2 separate regions of the Homo sapiens genome follow, and region 2 is linked to region 1. The links are contacts of gene promoters, found by promoter capture Hi-C in human tissues and cell types (Jung and others, 2019). All regions are on one chromosome and are shown on one strand. The core of a region is centred on a gene start or on the middle of the fragment in contact, and the rest is flanking DNA. Distances in the headings are between cores, read along the strand shown. Region 1 holds the start of MOB3B (MOB kinase activator 3B). Region 2 overlaps TEK (TEK receptor tyrosine kinase).

Region 1 (2,753 bases), core at 155-2,654:
CCAAACTACCTGAAAATATTCTCTTTCTGTTCCTACTTTCCAGGAGATAACATCTTAAGGGACACTGAAGCTTGTGCGTGTGTGAGTAGAACACGTGCTGGGGGCTCTTGAGCTCATGAGGGAGGGGCTACATGTCGGTGGGGTGATAACTGTATGCTGGAAACAATGATAGGTGGTGACCCTGGAGCACTTACCATGTGACAGGTGTTATGCTAAGCATGTTGTATGCATTCCTTCATTGAATGACAGCTACCTATATTATCCTCATTTTATAAGATGAGGTAACAGAGCTTCAGAAAGGTTAGACTCAGCTGCTATGGGTCTGTCTGACTCTGGTGTTCTTCCTCTTAAAAACTGGGGCACTTTGGAAATGAGATTCCTCGGTGATGAACAGAAATATTGCTTAGCGGCTGTATTTTTGTATCTGGCAGTTTTCCCATATTTGAGTCTTATATTCACAATCGGTATCTTTACATTACACAAAAGTGACACAGAATTAGAGTCATTTAATCCAGGGTTGATATCATTAAGTCATGACTATTTATTAAATGTTTCTTACAATATCTGAGATGATATTGCAAAAGATGTAAGTGATTTTAGAAGTTCTCACTTCGTAGTTAGTTGCAGAAACCTCTTTTGGAGGAGGGATGTTTTCTCTATATATCCTAATTTCTACTTAATATATTTCCACACCTCTTTGAAGTGTGTAGTAAGAATGGTAAAATGCAGTACTTCGTCATTTGGTACAGTTCAATCAATATGCATTAAGATGTGATCATATGGGTAATAGAAAAATGTGAAAGATCCAATTCTTTTTCTCCAGAAGGCAGGAAGCTCATATTTGATTTCTGTTACTATAAACTATAAAAACGTTTCAAATGTAGTTTACCCGTAACCATCACCCTGCAAGGGTGATATTGCTCCCCGCCAATTTACGGAGGAGAATACTGAGGCTTTAAGGTTGTAGATAGACCAAGACCACACAAGTAGAGAGTGGCGGGCTGTGGGTTGAGCTTTAAAATCCAGGTTCATCCATGACTCCCAGTGTGTTCTAGTAAATCCACTAGAATCTGAGTATTTTCCAATGATTTATGCTCCGCTCTGTGTCAGGCAGTTCATGGTATTTTTCAACAATCAGAAAATCCTGGGGAAGGCAAACTGTTTCCCCCTCTCTAGGTGCCTTGGAAGTGGCCGTTGTGGACCCAGAGATCATCCTTTCTGATCTGACACCTTCTTCACTGCCCTGGCCCAGTGTCTTTTCTGCAAGGCTGGAAGCCCCCTTAGACTGGTCATGTCCCATCTCTTTCCGGAGGGAAGATGATCCCAAAGACGACTTTTCTCTCCACGGTGCTGCCATACCGCAGGCGGCCGCCAGGGGTCCCCGCTCGGCGTCCCCGCGAGACAGTCGAGCCCCGGCCGGCTGCGCGGCGCGCTGGGTGCATGAGGGGGCTGCTCCGGAGCGACGGCGGCTGCAGCTGGAGCCAGGCGCTCGCCCGTCCGCCGGTTGGCTCGCCGGGACCTCGCGCACCGGCGGCAGAGTCCCTTGCGTGGATTGGCAAGCGACGCCCCACCTGCCCCGAGCTCACCATTTTCTTTCGCGCTGGCTGCAGCTGACCCGGCGAAGGGAGCCGACCGGGCCCTGGGCTGGAGGTAAAACCCCACGGTGAGTAAGAACCCGCTCCAAGCTAGGGGAGGCGGCGCAGCCCGGTGGCTGCTCGCTCCCGATCTCGCCCGGGCGGGCGGCGAGGTTTGGGGCGCACCTGGGCGCGGGTGCAAGAAGGTGCGGGAGGCGGCGGACCGGTCTTCTGCCCGCCGGCCACGGGCTTCCGGGGCTGGAGTCCTCTTCAGACCCCTGCCGGCGCCTGGGTTTCTGGCCGGCTCCTCGTGTGCACTTCCCGGCAGGAACAAGGGTCGCCCACTTTCCACCCCGGGATCTTGATTTGTCCTTGATTTGAAAAGATATAAATCAATAAGATCGTCCTTCTTTCGGGGTGCAAGACTCCGAGCCCATCCCCAGCCGCGGACGCCTGCAGGGTGCGTGTTGGGCTGTGGGTGGCGGGAAGACAAACTTTTACAAAAGTGCGCCTGGGCTGGGGGACAACGCTTGGGCGTCCTGATCCTGAGGGAGGAGTCTCGGCTTGGGGCAGCGTAGGGGAAGTCCGCACCGTCAGCCAGGTCGCCCCCGGGGCTGACGATGCCTCACGGAGGTGGGGAGCGTGTAAAGGCCGTACAAATCGCGCTTAACTTTGGGGCCAACAACTGTCAAACATCTGGAATCCCAGCCCCTCCCTTTCCCTGAACTGGGGAAGAAGGTGAAAACCCTTCAAGTTTTCTTTGATTGCCCCTTCCCACCTTCAGACCCCTGCTGGGAGGGTAAAGCGCCGACCCCTGGTGCCTGGCAAGTACCAGAGACTCTAAATCTCTCGGGATCCCCCCCCTCGCGCTCTTTCCTGACCCTCTCCCCTAACCCTCCCCACAGAGATCTCTCTACGCAGCCGACTGAGATCGTGGCGAATGGCCTTTTGTTTCTCCGCGTTTCCCCTATTGTTTGCCTTTCCAACATCTGGCGGGGCTTGGGGAGAGAAGGAAGCCCCTCTGGTCCCCCTCCCCGGCCCCCACGCCAGCTCCGGCAGGGGATCCCAGCTGGGAAAGTGGAGGAGCCCGACCCCAGCGAGGCCGCCCCACCCCGCCCTTGTGGTTAGAGGGCGGAGGGAAAGTTGTTCCTTCCCCGCCTCCGCTGCTGCCTGTGGCCC
Region 2 (2,753 bases), core at 159-2,658, 340 kb after region 1:
TTAAAGGTTGAGAAACACTGCTCTTACTCTTGGTTCGAGGTGAGAGGAAGGGTCTGTTTCCATCTACTGGGAATTAAGTCCCACCAGCCTGGTTCTGACTACCCTCAGACTAGTGAGAACCAGCAGCTAGGCATGCATTTTCTTGGCATTATGCAAAAGGTCTGATGGCCCTTTCTCTGTAACCTTTGCAAATGGAGAGAGGTGATGCCATCTCCTCTTGTTAACCTCTGAAGTTTAACCTCCAAAATAGCCACCCAGAGTGGTTTAGGCAGGTTTGCAATGACAAAGGAGAATGGGGAGTTGATATTTTGGAGAATACATTTACACCTCCTAATCCTGTGCCTGGTACAGAAGAGTAACTCAATAAATAGTCATTTCCCCTTTTCCCGCCCTTTGGGAACATGATTACCCCATACGCCTCCCTGTCTGCCCCTTTCTGCACTATGTTCAGAAAGTGTTCTCTTCCTTCCCCTCCCGGACTCCCTGGCCTTCACCATCTCAATCAACACACATAAACAGTGCAACTGCCAGACGAAATGAAAAGCAAACAGCAGCAAAATTCAAATGATGGGAAAAGAAGAACCTTCAATAATCCCCTTCCCGCCTACCCCTGAGAACTACTTTGAAATATTCTGAGAGACCTCCTGGCTGCAACACATTCTGAGGGCTGAAGACAGTACAGTGTGGGGCTGTGAAGTGTTTTATGTTCTGTTCCATAAATACTTTCCATCTGAGTCAGTTTATGCTCTTCCCCTCTTGACTCACCAACAGTGACTTGAGAGAGAATTAACTACCATTTGCCTTTTAGCAGTAACATGATGACATATCAGGGATCCCTTGGGTCATGGTTGTAGAGGTCCCTTTTTCCTCTCTATATAGTTTCTGGGTTTATTTTTTATATTCACAACCAGGTGGGTCCCCAAGCAGCCATTTCTTACTTGTGTGTAATGCTTCTATAAGTCTCAGAGTAGCTTTTGAGTCTCATTTGGTTCTTTAAGGATGCTGCTAGTAACATAAAAACTAGGTGGGTGGTGTGAAGGAAGGATGTTTCTGTTAAGGGTGCACAATCTCTGCAGAAGAAAAGTGGATGTTCTTCCTGGTTTTTTCACTCAATCATAACATATCCTTCTACTTTTAGTAAATGGAGTAAAACACAGGCAAATATGTGAACTGGGATAATAAGCTGGTGCCTTTGGGATTCTAGGTAGAAATAATAATTGGAGAAACAAAAGGATATGGAGCCTGGACTGGGAGTGGTGACTCATCCCTGTAATCCTAACACTTTGAGAGGCCAAGGCTGGGGGACTGCTTGAGGCAGGAGTTTAAGACCAGCCTGGGCAACAAAGCAAGACCCCGTCTCTACAAAAAAAATTTTTTGAAGTAGCCAGATGTGGTGGTGTGCCTGTAGTCCCAGCTACTCAGGAAGCTGAGGTGGGAGGATGACTTGAGCCCAGGAGATAGAGGCTGTAATGAGTGTTGATCAAACCACTGCACTCTCCAGCTTGAGTGACAGAGCAAGATCCTGGCTCTAAAAGACAAAGATATGAAGCCCGAAGATTTAGTATGGTGATGCATCTTACTGTTATTAAGTACTCTGAGTCTCTACTTTTCAATCTGTAAAATAGGGAAGATGATAATTCTTACTTTCCTAGGTGATATAAATCAAATATATATGAAGTTGAAAGTATAAAGTACTGACCAAGAGAGAGTAACAGAATGGTTATACACAGTGAACAATTCAAAGAACCAGGAATGGAACCTTACAAAAGATCACTCCAGTATTTCAATGGAGGGTACCTGGGTAACAGAAAGCTGGAGGTCAGGTTAGCATCAAGGAGGCTTCACAGAGTTAATTAACGCAATAGAAGGCCAGTCAATACCAAACACCACTGAGAAGTCCAGAAGTAATTTTACACATGTTATCTAGAACGTGTGGACCCAGGACCAGCAGCATCACTTGGGAACCTACTAGAAATGCAAATTTTTGAACCCCGGCCCCATCCTCACCTCAAAACCATTGAATCCGAAACTCTGGGGACGAGGCCCAGAAACATCTTTTAACAAACTCTCTGAGTGATTCTGATGGACACTTAGGTTTGAGAACCACTGATTTAGAAAAGGGAGGTAAATATAAGAAATAGCTTAAGGAGATGAAAGTGGCTACCTATAGGAAGCAGGACTGGGAGGTGGAGGGTGGAGCAGGAGAATGCTGTTCTTTAGATAAAAGCTTCTTATTCTATTTGATGTCATGACTCTGACCATGAATTACTTTGAAAAATTGGAAATTATTTTTGAAAATAAATAAACTGGGACTTCTAAAATATGCCTGTGGCAAGAGCCTGGTCTGGGCCCTTAAGATGGAAACAGGAAGCCAGTGATAAAATGCAGGAGCTGAAGCTCAGCACAGTTGCTGCTGTGTAAATCCCAGCTCCTAGGGGAGGCCCTGCCTTCCTGAAGGCTCATCTGCTTCCTTCTCTGTCCCTACAGAGTGCTGCAGACCTCCTCCCCCAGGGAGACAGACCAGGAGTCCAACCCAAATAAAGGAACAGTTTGGCTTGAAGTTGCTAGCCTTCCTGTCACTTTCCCACCCATTCAAAAGCGAACTCCTGCCACCTCCATCCCCACCCACCCACTCACCCACCACCACCCTTCCTGGTCTTCCTTCCTCTTTCCCCTTCCTCCCCCTCCCACCCAGCTCATGAATAAATGCCTGTTGGCTTCCACTGACCGATAGAAGCTGTTGTGAAGCGTCT

Evidence for each region. Contacts are between HindIII fragments. The study calls those that stand out against the background at their distance.
Region 2: a contact is called between a fragment that was not itself captured here and the fragment with the promoter of MOB3B in region 1, in 1 of the 25 tissues and cell types used here (lymphoblastoid cells).

Annotation. Positions count from the first base shown.
Region 1 is chr9:27,528,465-27,531,217 of GRCh38, reverse strand. MOB3B (MOB kinase activator 3B) reads left to right here and starts at 1,404. Exons shown (of 4, transcript NM_024761.5): 1 at 1,404-1,663. LOC124902107 (dapper homolog 3-like) reads right to left here. Exons shown (of 2, transcript XM_047424279.1): 1 at 2,492-2,753; 2 at 518-2,198. The coding sequence ends at 1,210. RefSeq lists silencers at 1,357-1,656, 2,627-2,676. The HindIII fragment of the contact is 5,687 bases long and covers 1-1,868 here.
Region 2 is chr9:27,192,599-27,195,351 of GRCh38, reverse strand. It overlaps TEK (TEK receptor tyrosine kinase), which reads right to left. Exons shown (of 23, transcript NM_000459.5): 11 at 2,729-2,753. Among named protein-coding and RNA genes, the nearest start is that of TEK, 85 kb to the right of the region's middle. The HindIII fragment of the contact is 6,550 bases long and covers 1-2,753 here.